Regions from separate parts of the Homo sapiens genome. Here regions 1 and 3 are each linked to region 2. The links are contacts of gene promoters, found by promoter capture Hi-C in human tissues and cell types (Jung and others, 2019). All regions are on one chromosome and are shown on one strand. The core of a region is centred on a gene start or on the middle of the fragment in contact, and the rest is flanking DNA. Distances in the headings are between cores, read along the strand shown.

Region 1 (4,878 bases), core at 382-2,881, 120 kb after region 2:
CACGGGCTCTCCTGTAAGCTTCTTCACCCAGCCAACAAGGTCCTGAGCAGAAGCCTTGTTTCCAGGCTGTCTCCTACGTCTGGAAGTCTGGGCTCTTGAATCACAACAGGATCTTGACTGCTTTGGCAATTTGAATTTGAGGATGATGAGCAGTGCCTCATCTCAAAAAATTACTGGAGTAACTTTTATGAAACTATTTTGTTTTCAGGGTCTAAGGTTTTTGCTTTGGAGACACTCAGGGAATATGTATCTACTCGTTCAGGCTTAGAAGGCTTGCTCTTGGCTGCTTTGTAGGCAACCAAACCAAATGTTGAACATATTCAGGGTTTTACCAAGTACTCCAAAAACAAGACCAAATATAATCAAAAGTAAGCAAGAAAGAAATGGTGAGATGGCTTTAAAATGACACCTGCATGCACAATGTTATTCATTTCAGCATCGCTGGTAATAGGAAAAGACTAGAAGCAACTTACATGCCCATCAGTAGGTGTCTTGCTAAACAAATTATGGCACATCCTTACCATTGGAAACCATGAAGCTACAAAAGAATGAGGAAGGACCTTTTGTAGCCAAACGAAATGACCTCTAAAGGATAATTTTCAGTGAAAAACAATAAAAAATCAATGTGATCCTCCTGCCTCAGCCTCCTGAGTAGCTGAAGCAGAAAGGTTGATATTATCTATTTTGTCCTCAAAAATATTTCTATAAATAAGAGGGGAGGAAGAAAACATATATACATATTTGCTTGTAAATGCATAAATATTTCTGGAAGGATACACAAGAAACTGGTGACCTTGGCTGACTGTGAAGCAAACTAGGTGTCCAGGGAGAGTGGTAGAAGGAGACTTTTCACTGAATACCCTTTTGTGTCTTTTACACTTTGAACCATACACATGTATGTACTACCTTTGCAAAAATAATAATTGAATTTTATTTTATTATTATTAAAATTAGTTCTAGACCAGTATTGATAAGTAGGAACAAGATAGAAAGTCTTATAACAAATAAGACAAAGGGCTAGAATATTTCAGTTACAGTGATAGGCTATGAACCGGGTCAGGACTAGCCAGTTAAAAGAGTCACTACATTTGGTCATTTGCTGTAAAGAAAGCCGAAATCAAATCGGTGCTTTGGTAAAGCCATTACATAACCTACATTTGGATTAATTCCAGTTCCTAACCATTGTTTCTTCTTGCAGTGAGGCCCCAGAAGTAATTCAGGCAGAATAATGAATAGAAATTTCGTAGTTTTCCTGAATAATAGTAGTTGAGTGCCTATATATCAGAAAGTGTTTGCATTATTTATCCATCATTTAACAAGTCCCTTCTTAAGCTCTGCTCCCTGCATCTCACAGTGCTAGGTGCTTTGGGGTAGGTAGCATGGGATCAGCCTCTGGTATCAGACCCAAGTTCAAGTCCAGTTCAGGCTTATACTACTTGCAGGATTTGTTTCCCTTGTTTTTTGTTTGTTTGTCCATTTGTTTGGGGGATGTTTAGTTTTATTTATTTATTTGCCAGGGTCTTGCTCTGTTGTTGCCCAGGCTGAATGCAGTGGCAGCAATCGTGGCTCACTGCAGCCTCCAACTCCTGGGCTCAAGTGATCTTCCCACCTCTGCCTCTTGAGTAGCTGGGACTACAGGCACATGGCCACCTGCCACCATGCCTGGCTCTTTCTTTCTTTTCTTTCTTTCTTTTTTTTGTAGAGTCACAGTCTCCTATGTTGTCCACACTGGTGTCAAACTCCTGGTCTCAAGCGATCCTCTGGCTTCAGTCTCCCAAAGTGCTAGGATTACAGGTATGAACAACTATGCCCAGCCCCAGCTGTGTGATGTTGGGCAAACTGCTTGTCTCTCTGCATCTCAGTTTCCTCATCTGTGACAAATGAACACAATATCTACCACATAGGGCACTATAAAGATTAAATGAAATCATGTATGTGTATTAGTCCAGTTTCATACTGCTATAAAGAACTGCCCGAGACTGGGTAATTTACGAAGGAAAGAGGTTTAATCGACTCACGGTTCAGCATGGCTAGGGAGGCCTCAGGAAACTTACAGCCATGGCAGAAGGCAAGAAGGAAGCTAGACACCTTCACAAGGCAGCAGGAAGAAGAAGTGCAGAGAGAAGGAAGAGCCTCTAATAAAACCATCAGATCTTGGCCGAGCACGGTGGCTCACGCCTGTAATCCCAGCACTTTGGGAGGCCAAGGCGGGTGGATCACCTGAGGTCAGGAGTTTGAGACCAGGCTGACCAACATGGTGAAACACCGTCTCTACTAAAAATACAAAAATTAGCCGGGCATAGTGGTAGACACCTGTAATCCCAGCTACTCAGGAGGCTGAAGTAGGAGAATCACTTGAACCTGGGAGGTGGAGGTTGCAGTGAGCCGAGATTGCACCACCGCACTCCAGCCTGGGTGACAGAGCAAGACTCCGTCTCAAAAACAAAAAAAAAAAAATCAGATCTTGTGAGAACTCACTCGCTATCACTCACAATCACTATCAGAACAACATGGGGAAACGATCCCCAAGATTCAATTACCTCCACCATATTGATACTAACCATATCAGTAGGCAAATTGCAACAGATGCTCAATACGTATTTTCTGTCCTTCCTTTCTCTTTAAGGTTCTTGGTGTCTTAACATACTCAGGGATATTTATTTACAAGGCAGCATATTATAACAAATAAGTGATAAAAACAGCGTATATCACAGGATTGTAGTTCCTAACTAGCAGTTCATATCAATAGCAAACAAAAACCTTCTTATAAAGTTCTTCTTAGACCTGCTCACTCAGTCATTGAAGGTAGGGCTAGGGCATAAAAATTCAATATGTATCTATTTCCTGTTAAATCAGTAATACACACTGAGAATTAAAATTTTAAATATAAAAGGGAATACAGTGAGAAGTAAATCTCCTTCCCATTCCTATTCCTCTGGCTCCTTTTTCCCTCCAAAAGGCATTCATTTTGTCCAAAGATATGTCTCATTATTTTTTTTCTAATCTTTGTTCTATGTGTTCTTCAAATTGGATAAGTTCTATGTTTCTGTCTTCAAGCTTGCTGACTTCTTTTGGTCGTTTTCATCCTGCTATAAGCCCATCCAGTGAATTTAATATTTTAGATATCATATGTTTTTAGTTCTAGAATGCAACCATTTGGTTGTGTTTTGGTAGTTTCTATTTCTCTGATGAAATTTCCTATTTTTCATTCCTCCTGAACATATTTCCATTTATATCCAGTTCTTATCTCATGAGCTATTTCCCCTAATCACAGACTAAAAATATATATTTTTTCCCTTCCATTTAATTCTTAGATGGATTCCCTGTCTAGAGAATGAAGAATTTAGATTCAGTGATCATCACAGAAATAAAATTGTTACAATCTTTTAAAATCCTTTTATTCACCTTGAAAGCAATTTGGGATTTTGGACTTTAAAAATAATATTTCACTTGAAAACTGTCTCAAGCATCTAATGTAAATGAAAACAGCAGGAATTCTGCTAAGTGATTTGAAGAAAGACATCAAAACACACTGACTTTTGCACATATATTTTTAATTGAGACAGAGTCTTCCTCTGTTGCCTAGGCTGAGCGCAGCAGTGAAAACATGGCTCACTGCAGCCTTGACCTCCTGGCTCAAGCAATTCTCCCACCTCAGCCTCTTGAGTAGCTGGGACCACAGGCACATGACACCACATCTTGCTAATTTTTAAATTTTTTATAGGGACAGTGTTCCACTATGTTGCCCAGCCTGGTCTTGAAATCCTGGGTTCAAGTGATCCTCCTGCCTTAGCCTCCCAAAGTGCTGGGATTCCATGCATGAGCCACCTCACCTAGCTTGCCTATTTTTAATTGGGAATTTTTGGGCTCTCTCTCCAGTGCCTCATTATGTAAGGTATATAACTTGCAGGGCATGACCTCAGGGAACTTTCTAGTTGCCTGAACTTTCTAATGGCGACAACTAGGACACCAGAACACTTTTGCCACCTGTCCTACTGTTGCTAGAATAATGTTGGCCCTTGAGTTCATAGACAAAGAGAAAGCAGTTCTCTCCTGGCCACTCAGGGGCAGAAAAAGCATCCCCACTCCTCTGCATTAGGAGAAAACACATTTTCTATGCATGAAAGAAAAGGAAGCAGAACTTCTGTTAAAATGATGCCCAGGAAAAAACTTTTTTTTTTTTTGAAATTAACTATTCTATCTTATATTAGTCAATAAGGAAGTGTATAATATATAATCAATATATATTATATTCACTGAAAATTGCTTTAAAGATGGTGCTAAGCCAATACTGAGAAGAGTGCCTGTAACAAAATAGGCACTCAGTAATCTTTTTTAAAATTCACAAGCAAAAAAAATATACATATATATATATGGTTAAACTGGATTTCATTTCCCATACAAATACCAGAAGCTTCCAAGAAAAGTATATTTTGAGAGTTTTTTTTTTCTTGAAGGGCATTATTTTTCATATAAAGTTTGTGTTGAACAAACTTTGTTACAAAGAACAATTCTATGCTATGGCAGAGTATGTTTGCACATTGCAGTTGTCTTTTTTCTTTATGATGAAATTATCAAACACATTAATAAGATCTGAAGGTCCAGTTTTCAAGAAAGGAAGATAGTCATGGATGCTGGTGTAAGCCTTCTAGAAAATTTTCAGGCCTTTAGAAAAATTTGAACAACTGCCTGATCCCTTGAGTCGTGAAAGGTATTTTAAAATTAGTATTACGGCCAGGTGCAGTGGCTCACGCCTGTAATCCCAGCACTTTGGGAGGCCGAAGTGGGCGGATCACTAGGTCAGGAGATCAAGACCAATCTGGCTAACATGGTGAAACCCCGTCTCTACTAAAAATAAAAAAAATTAGCCGCGCCTGG
Region 2 (4,817 bases), core at 2,291-4,790:
AGCCTCGGCACACTGACATTTTGGGCTAAATGATGCTTTGTTGTGGGAGCTGTGCACTGCAGGGTGTTTAGAGCACCGCTGGCCTCCACCTATGAGATGCCAGTAAGACTGTCTCCAGGTTGGACAGCAAAAAATGTCTCTGTACTTTGCCAAAGTTCCCCTGTTGTGGGGCAGGGTGAGGGCAGGAGAAAGGGTCAATGCTGGTTGACAGCCGCTGAACTAAAGGCGGAACAGCAGCGTGACTGGAAGCCCAGGCTTTGACACCAGACAGATATGATTGGCGCCCACTGTCAGCCACTGTCTGGCCTTTGGCAGCCACTAACTTCCTTGGGGCTTGGTGTCGGGGTGTACCCTGGGCAGGCCATCAGAATGATGCCTCCAGGGGCAGACAATGAGAGGGCGCATTGGAGAGAATTTTAAAACAATAATATTAGCTAAAAATTAGTTTGCTTCTTACTATCATCAAGTGATAGCAATTCTAAACAATGTCGCTCATAAATTACTCCTCCTGCTCCCAATCCTGGTCCCTGTCCCCTCTTGTTTCATGTCTTCATCTGCAAATCGTGGATTTAAGAGTGCTCATTCTTCCCATATGGCGCACAAAGTCCTCGGTAACTTTTGATTCTCTAAACTTAGAAGCAGTAGGTGGCGTGCGTCACCAATGTACACTGTGCGTTCCTGGAGGAGTCAAGCAGACCCACTAGGAAAGAGGACGAGACACAAGGTTAACTGCCCCCTCACCTCCGCGCCACTATTTAGAAGCCCAGGAGGTGCCTCATCCCTGAAGTCAACAGGCTTGACCCCCCTAGTCTAGAATGCCTCCACAGTGTCAAGGGAGAGGGCAGGATGGGAAGCGGATGTTAGAAAAGTTCAACATTAACAAGGCAGGGTGTCCTGACACACCACTTAATGAAAAAATGCAGGCAAAACCTACTGTGTGTGTGTGTGTGTGTGTGTGTCTGGGAAGAGAGAGAGAGATTCATCTGGAAAGATGTTCATCAAAATGTGAATAACTTATGGGATTTGAGTGTACTTTTATTTTTACTTTATATCTTACAGATTTGCAAAAAAGAAACCTTTTACATTTTAATAAAATAAGTGATACAAGAAATCTATCATTTATTTCATTAAATTTTTTTTCAATTAAAAAAAGACCCAGAGGAAGGATAGAGAGAGTGGAGCAGAGATGAGGCCAGGAGGGAATCCAGGTGGAGACAGGAAAACTGGAGACAGTCGGTGAGGAGAGAGGCCTGGGTGTTGGCAGAGGGTGGCGTGCCCTGGGAGTCACCTCCTGGCAAGGACTGTGTTGCTCAGGCTGCCAAGGTCCTCCCAGCTTCTCACCAGCTTCCCAGCTGCCCTGCCCGTGCTGTGTACCCTCTGGGTTTCCTTGCACAATGGGGCGGCCATGGAGGGTGGGGGCAGGGTGACCAAAACAGGCAGAAAGGGAAAAAACAAGAAGACAAGGTCCAGGGTCCTCACCCAACCCCGCCAGAAGGAAAGCTCGTGAAGGCAGCCTTTGGAAGGACTCTCCCTGGGTTCTCTTCTTCCCCTCCCTGGTCCTCACTCAAAGGACAGCTTAATCTCTCTCTCTCTCTCTCTTACACACACACACATACACACACATACACACACACTGAGTTAGGGTTTCCAGTTCAGGGTGTGTGTGTGTGTGTGTGTGTATGTGTATGTGTGTGTTTGTGTTTTTTGTGTGTTTTGTGTGTGTGTTTGTGTGTGTGTTTGTGTGTCTGTGTTTGTGTGTTTGGGTGTGTGTTTGTGCGTGTGTTTTTGTGTGTGTTTGTGTTTGTGCGTGTGTTTTGTGTGTGTCTGTGTGTTTGTGTGTGTGTCTGTGTGTGTTTGTGAGTGTGTGTGTGTGAGAGAGAGAGTGTGTATGTGTGTGTGTGTGAGTGGGGTCTCCTGTGGCAGGAAGGTCAGCCAAGCTACTATAATCATTCCAGGGAACATCACTCCCTACCAGCAGAGCTGAAATCGCAGCTCTCCTGCCTGGCTACTTCCCCTGGACAATAACAACCCCAGACTTCTTGCTACAGAGGAAGTGTGGCTGCCCACAGTTGGTGTGGCAACTGCACAGCCTCCACAGTTGGATCTGCTGTCCTTGACCCATCCAGGGCCTGTGCTAGGCCCACCCAAGGGCTCCTCCCAGTCTCCCCCTCCCCCATCCTAGGAACTAACGTTAATCCCTTTTGATTCCCAAAGCCTTAAAGTGTCAGAACCAAACCACCTAGCCCCATTGTACAGATGAGAACACCAAGGCCCAGAGAGCACAGGCACTTGGCTAAAGTCACACAGATGACAGAATGGTGGAAGTCCAGTTCTCTTGCAGGTTGGCTTCCTGACACCCCAGTGCACTCCCTTCCTCTAGAGCTCCCCCCCAGAGCATCCCCTGAAGAGCTCCTCTGTTTCCCAAACCTGCCTGGGGAGGGGAGGTGGGGAGCTGGAGGTTTCCTGTCTGGGCTGAGAGTGAAAGGGCTGAAAGAAGGAACGAGGAAGGAGCAGCCAGCAGCCACAAAAGGCTTCAAAGGGCTTGGGCCTCCGCCAAACTGGCTGTGCACAGCCCAGTGGAGCCTGCGCCCACCCTGCGGCCAAGGCCATTCATTCTCTCTCTCCCTCACAGAAGCATTAGGAGACTAGGGCCTGGGAGGAAGCTTCCCTGCAACTCCAGGTCCTGCCACCCAAGGCGCGAGCTCTGGGAATGTGTCCCGCCTCCTGCTACAGCCCCAGCAGGCAGGAGGCAAAGCAGGCCAACCCCAACCTGCCTGCAGCCTGGAGCAGGATTATGAATCAGATGTGGCTCTCCAGGTTGGAAGGAATGTGGATCATAGATAGAGACACTAAGGCCCAAGGAAGGGCCAGAGAGTGGCAAAGACAGCGCAGGATCCACGTGGGTGATGATTTTTTTCCTGTAGGTCCCTCCTGACGGCAGAAGCCACCTACAGCTTGAAGTCTTCTTTGGCGAAGGGAAAAGACAGGAGAGAGAGAGGGAAAGGCAAGCTCCCAGGTTCCCTGTTGGCGCAGGTGGCATTTTGGGGGGAAACAGGGTTATGCACTGTGGGAGATTCGATTCGGAGCCAGGGGCTGAGCCTAAGGCTGGGATCTGTGTGGCTGAGATCTGTGCTCACTTCGAGGTTTCCGTGCTTGCCTGGACGGCTCTTGCGCCCTGGGATCTGTAAACCCCAAGGGTGGTGCGCCCTGGGGTCGCCATGCCCCTCAGATTCTTTACAGGGCACCTCCCATCCGGCACCTGGAGCTCCTGAGTGCGCGCGCCCCGGGAGAGCTGTGCTCCCCGCGAAATCCGTGCGCTCCAGCTCAGGGCTCCCGGGATCGGTGCCCGTTAGTGGGCACAGGACGCCGGGTGTCCGAAGGGCTGCCTGGAGATGCAACTGACCTTGGCGGGCATCAGAATGACGAGTGGCAGCAGCAGGAGCGGGGTGACGAACAAGATCACGAAGGACTTGAACTTGGAGACATAGCTCAGCGCCGAGGCCATCGCGCGGGAGGGAGACTGGCGGGCGAGACGAGTGAGGGGCAGCTAGAGGCGCCGCGGGCTTAAGAAGGGGCCACAGTCCCCGGGGATTGGGGAGGGGGCGGTGACAACTCCGCCCCGCACGGGGGCGCCTCCCCGCGGCCCTGGGGCGGGGCCACCCCTCGGGGTCTGTGGGACGCGCCTGCCCCCAATTCTGCCACCCGGCGGCGGTGGGAGGCGTCTTTGGACTCCAACGCTTCGGGCCAGCCCTCTAGGGGCAGCCTGGGCCCTAGCATCTCGCGCTGTCCAAGCCTCTCCTGCGCTGCCGAGGCAGAGGTGCGTCCCGGGGCTGCCAAGCGGGGCGTGTTTTGGTCACTGGTGCTGCCCGCTTTGGCGTAAGGCGCCCTCCCGCGTCCGCATCTGCTCTTTCCTGGGCTCTGAAGGGTCCCGGATGAAACTCTCTGCAGGCCTCTGGGTCTCTCAGGTCTATCTCCCCGATCTCCCTCTCCTTTCCATCTCCTTACTTCCGCCCCTCCGGTGTCTCTCCGAGAGGTGTCCCCCCACGCCCCGCGCCCTCCGCACCGCGGGCCTCGCTTCCCGGTCCCCCCTGGCTTCCTCGCCACGTCCGCCCCACTCTAGGTGCAGGACCCCTTTTCCCCGCTCGCACTCTCCGGCCCGGAGCTCCTGGGCGATCGCACAGGGAAGCGAGGCCACTGTCCTCCTCTGTCCCAGGGGCTGTCGCGCTCCAGTGGACGCTGCACCCCGCAGACGCCCGGCGGGCAGATGCGGACACGCGTCTTGGAGGGGCCCCACCGAGCCTCAGCAGCCGCAGCTGCCCGCCCGACCCAGGTCAGAGGGAAACGGAGCTCTAGAGAGGAAGGGACACAACTAAGGCGACACTGAGACAGTCGCCCATGTATTCATTCAGCCCGCCAGGCAACAGACAGGTGCCGAGCACCTCTTCTCCGCGAGGCCCTGTTTTGGGCACTGGAGACACACGGATGCAAAGACATCCCCACCTCTGTGATTTTCTTCTTTCCTCTCCTCTGCCTGCCTCTCATTCTGCAGCTTCCTTTTGGGGAGTCTCATCCATGCTGGTGGCCTAACCACAGCCGGCTCCTTAGTGATTACCATCCTCTGCCTTCAACCCAGCCATGATGCCAGAGTCCCAGATGTCCAGCCTTCCGCAGACTGGACGTGTCTCGGCCCGAAAATTCAACACATCCTGAATCAAGCTCATGAGTTCCTTCCTGTGACCTGCACCCAAGGACATGCATTCTCCCAAGCCCCTCCTGCAATTGCCTCCCTCCTGTCCTTTTCCCTTTGTAACTCTCAT
Region 3 (4,544 bases), core at 1,401-3,900, 110 kb after region 2:
ATCCGATGACACAGTGGGTGACAGATATTAGTTGGTGTCTATGTGACTTCAAAATATCCAAACACAATGAAGAAAAATTGATTGATGACTGGTCACTTGGTCTGAAACATGCCAAATGGACTTTTTTTTCTCTCTCTCTTTTTCTTTTCTTTGTATTTTTTTTAAATTATACTTTAAGTTCTAGGGTACATGTGCACAACGTGCAGGTTTGATACATAGGTATACATGTGCCACATTGGTTTGCTGCACCCATCAACTCATCATTTATATTATGTATTTCTCCTAATGCTATCCCTCCCCCAGCCCCCCACACCCTGACAGGCCCCGGTGTGTGATGTTCCCTGCCCTTTGTCTAAGTGTTCTCATTGTTCAATTCCCACCTATGAGTGAGAACATGCAGTGTTTGGTTTTCTGTCCTTGTGATAGTTTGCGCAGAATGATGGTCTCCAGCTGCATCCATGTCCCTGCAAAGGACATGAACTCTTCCTTTTTTATGGCTGCATAGTATTCCATGGTGTATATGTGCCACATTTTCTTAATCTAGTCTATTACTGATGGACATTTGGGTTGGTTCCAAGTCTTTGCTATTGTGAATAGTGCCACAATAAACAAACGTGTGCATATGTCTTTATAGTAGCATGATTTATAATCCTTTGGGTATATACCCAGTAATGGGATTGCTGGGTCAAATGGTAATTCTAGTTCTAGATCCTTGAGGAATCACCACACTGTCTTCCACAATGGTTGCACTAATTTACCCTCCCACCAACAGTGTAAAAGCATTCCTATTTCTCCACATCCTCTCCAGCATCTGTTGTTTCCTGACTTTTTAATGGTTGCCATTCTAACTAGCATGAGATGGTATCTCATTGTGGTTTTGATTTGCAGCCAGATGGACTTTTTTTCCCAAGAAGAGGAAAGTTTTAAATAATAATAATAAATTCAAAGACTTGTTTCCTTCCTTGATCCTCATTCAGTGTTTAGACAAACAATTGAACATAGAAAGATGTTTTAGGGTGGGCGCAGTGACTCACGCCTGTAATCCCAGCATTTTGGGAGGCTGAGGCAGGTGGATCGCCTGAGGTCGGGAGTTGGAGACCAGCCTGGCCAACATGGAGAAACCCCGTCTCTACTAAAAACACAAAATTAGCCAAGAGTGGTGGTGCATGCCTGTAATCCTAGCTACTCAGGAGGCTGAGGCAGGAGAATCATTTGAACCCGGGAGGTGGAGGTTTCGGTGGGCCGAGATTGCACCATTCCACTCCAGCCTGGGCAACAAGAGCGAAACTCCATCTCAAAAAAAATTTTAAAAGATGTTTATAGTAATAATAACTATTAATAATAATAACACCAATAGTAATATTGCCTCTGCCAGTGAGCACTTACTCCATGACAGGCATTGTGCTGAGCTTTATTAATATATAAACATTCTTTCTTAGCCCTTTCAAGTACAGATGGGGAAACTGAGTTTCAGAGAGACTAAGTGATCTACCCAGTGTCACAGAACTGTGTGCCACATGTGCTTCTAGCCAAGATGCCATCCTCCTCCCAAACTGACCCTGCTACACAACGTTTTGCTCTTTTTCAACCTGCATGATAGTGCTTGGAAAGGAGGTTCCCCTACTCACTAGCTGGGTGCCCTTAGCCACTATATAACCTACCTGTGCCTTGGTTTCCTTTTCTGTAAAATGGGGGTAATTATTAGTACTTCATAGGATTGTGGCACACTACAAATGAGCTATAAAAGCATAAGCTACAGTACCTGGCACATAGTACATGCTCAGTAAACTTAGCAGCCTCTACGTTATCATTATCCTCAGGCTTAGACTTGAGCCAACTGGGTGTTGAGCTCTTTGATGAGCTGCTATTTCTCTTTGCTTCATAGATTTCTAAATCTGGCTGGGGAGACTGCTGCCTGGTTCCTGCAACGGGTCCTGTTTAAGCTTATGGAAGGAACAGGGCTTTCCAGGAAGACAGGGGCATGGTGCATTTGAGAAACTGCAAGTAGCTCCACACACCTAAGCACATCCCACTACTGGGGACAAGATATGGATCCAGAGAGGTCACTGGGGGCCCTATCATGATGAACCTTGGTTTGCTAAGCTAAGAAGCTTAAAATTTATCTTGAAGCCATTGGGGTTTGAAGGATTCTAAGCATGGCGGTGACCGGGAAAAATCTGCATTTGGAAAAGTTCACTCAACAGCCAGTGTGCAGGGTGCACTAGATTATAGGGGACTATGCTAACAGCAAGAAGACCTGTTAGGGCACTCCAGCTAGGTCTGCGGCAGAACCCAGGTCTGGAAACCAGCATCACCCCAGAGTAGAAAGGATCATTCTATTCACTGGATTTATAGGAGGGAAATAATAATAAAAAGCACTATGTTCCTATAGTGCTGTCTGGATTACAAAGTGCTTCCGTGTGGCTCTGCATGGGAGAGACATACTGTCCCCTGGGAGCTGTAGTGTCTGTTCTCACCTTCTTCCTTGGCAACAGAACCCCTGGTTTTTTGGCTGAGCACCTGGCTGCCCAAAGTAAAACCAATCATTTCCCAGCATCTGTTGGTGTGGCCATGTGATTAAGTTCTGTCAATAGGATGCAAATAGAAATGATGAATGCCAGACCCCACTTACTCCTACTTGCTGGAATGTAGACATAATGGCTGGAGCTCCAGCTGCCAACTTAAACCACAAGGTAACATTAGGAGTGAAAGCCATGTGCAGTAGAACAAGAAGATAGAAAAAGCCTGGAACCCTAAAACTGTGGCCCACCATTCCAACCCTGGACTGACTATCTCTAGACTCTTTGAATGTAAGAGAGAAAGAAATCGTTTTCTTTAAATTCAATATTATTTTAAAGTTTTCTGCTACCCACAGCCAAACCTAGTCCTAACATATTTGAGTTGAGTTAGTCAAGAGCAGAGTTGAGGCATGAACCAAGTCCAGTGCCCCTTGCACTGCCCAGCACCAGGGGCATGCTGGGATAACTTCAGGCTCTAAAAGAACACCTGCTCAAGTGCTGTGTTCTAACTCACCATCGCACACAGCCGGCATTTACTACCCAGCATCTCATTTGTCACAACACATGAATCATTTGAGGGACCTTCGCTCCTACCTGTATGCCAGGCATGTCTCAGTGATGTGCAAGGGCTCTTTCAAGGTCTCCAGGGCTTTTTCCAATCTGATCTTATATATGAGTAGATCATCAGTTACATTCACAAGCTGCTCAAGTTTGTCATCTAACTCCTTCTTCCAGAACTGGACTTCCTCGAGTCTCTGTTCTGAAGCACACGGGGAAGTTACACCAGGGCTAATCTATCCCAAGGTAGCCAACATTTGAATTAGAAACTTGAAGACTGTTGTAAAACCACCTGTGACATGCTCTTTTCCTCTTAGTGCTGTGCTATTTGGGGCATCTTTTCATCTTTTTAAATGTTTATTTGCAGGAAGGAAGGAAGATATATTTTCTTACAGTCCACATCAGATTTATCATTCTACACCCACTAGTTCTTCAGTGCCCACTGTTTTTAATAACTTTTAATTTTATCAAAGATATAAATGTGTGTTGTTAGAAAAGTCAAATAGTATCACAAAGAATTAAAACTCTCTGACCTGTCCCCATCCATTTGAGACGGAGTCTCACTGTGTCACCCAGGCTGGAGTGCAGTGGTGCAATCTCTGCTCACTGCAAGCTCTGCCTCCCAGGTTCATGCCATTCTCCTGTCTCAACCTCCCGAGTAGCTGTGACTACAGGCATCCGCCACCACACCCGGCTAATTTTTTGTATTTTTTAGTAGAGACTGGGTTTCACCATGTTAGCCAGGATGGTCTCGATCTCCTGACCTCGTGATCCGCCTGCCTCGGCCTCCCAAAGTGCTGGGATTACAGGTGTCAGCCACTGCGCCAGGCCCCTTATCACTTCTGACATTTGCTTATACTGCTATTCACTCATTATCAGTTTTGATATTATATGTTGATTTCCTGTGATGAAAGATAATGATTTGCTCTTAACCAACTCACACAACATACTTCCGTCTCCCAATATAGTTGTATCACCATTTTGTTAAACAATAAATAAGTAAACTTACTATTTATTTACATTTTGTAAATATATAAATGTTATTTACACCTGAGCCCTATCATACACTGTAATAAATTTCTTTTCTTACAAAATTTTCTGTTTTGGGGAGGAGTTAAAATGGCATTTTTGCTTCACTTTCTTTTTTAAATGATAATTAAAGGCAGATTTATTAGTCACCATGAGTAAAAAATGACTGATTATACTAGGAAAACAATTAAATATATATATATTTAATTGATAATGAGTAGTTCAGCATTTGAATCTTAAAGTCATAATGTACTGGTTGTAGTGTCAGTTTCCACTTCTGTAAGCTGACTCTGTTTTAAAAAAAAATGTTATTGTATATATTTGAGGTTTACAACATGACATTATGAGATAGTAAAATGGGTAGCATAGTGATTCCTTCAGTTTCTTTATATTATTAATTTTTTCTCAATATGCCCTCAATATATTCCAACCCATCAA

What was found. Contacts are between HindIII fragments. The study calls those that stand out against the background at their distance.
Region 1: a fragment that was not itself captured here is called in contact with the fragment with the promoter of SLC13A5 in region 2 in 2 of the 25 tissues and cell types used here (adrenal gland and mesendoderm cells).
Region 3: a contact is called between a fragment that was not itself captured here and the fragment with the promoter of SLC13A5 in region 2, in 5 of the 25 tissues and cell types used here (H1 embryonic stem cells, bladder, liver and 2 more).

What each region holds. Positions count from the first base shown.
Region 1 is chr17:6,836,435-6,841,312 of GRCh38, forward strand. No RefSeq gene overlaps it. Among named protein-coding and RNA genes, the nearest start is that of TEKT1, 7.1 kb to the left of the region's middle. The HindIII fragment of the contact is 4,207 bases long and covers 1-3,735 here.
Region 2 is chr17:6,709,829-6,714,645 of GRCh38, forward strand. SLC13A5 (solute carrier family 13 member 5) reads right to left here and starts at 3,541. Exons shown (of 12, transcript NM_177550.5): 1 at 3,404-3,541. The coding sequence starts at 3,505. The HindIII fragment of the contact is 16,548 bases long and covers 1-4,817 here.
Region 3 is chr17:6,816,080-6,820,623 of GRCh38, forward strand. It overlaps TEKT1 (tektin 1), which reads right to left. Exons shown (of 8, transcript NM_053285.2): 3 at 3,114-3,279. Among named protein-coding and RNA genes, the nearest start is that of TEKT1, 13 kb to the right of the region's middle. The HindIII fragment of the contact is 6,754 bases long and covers 1-4,544 here.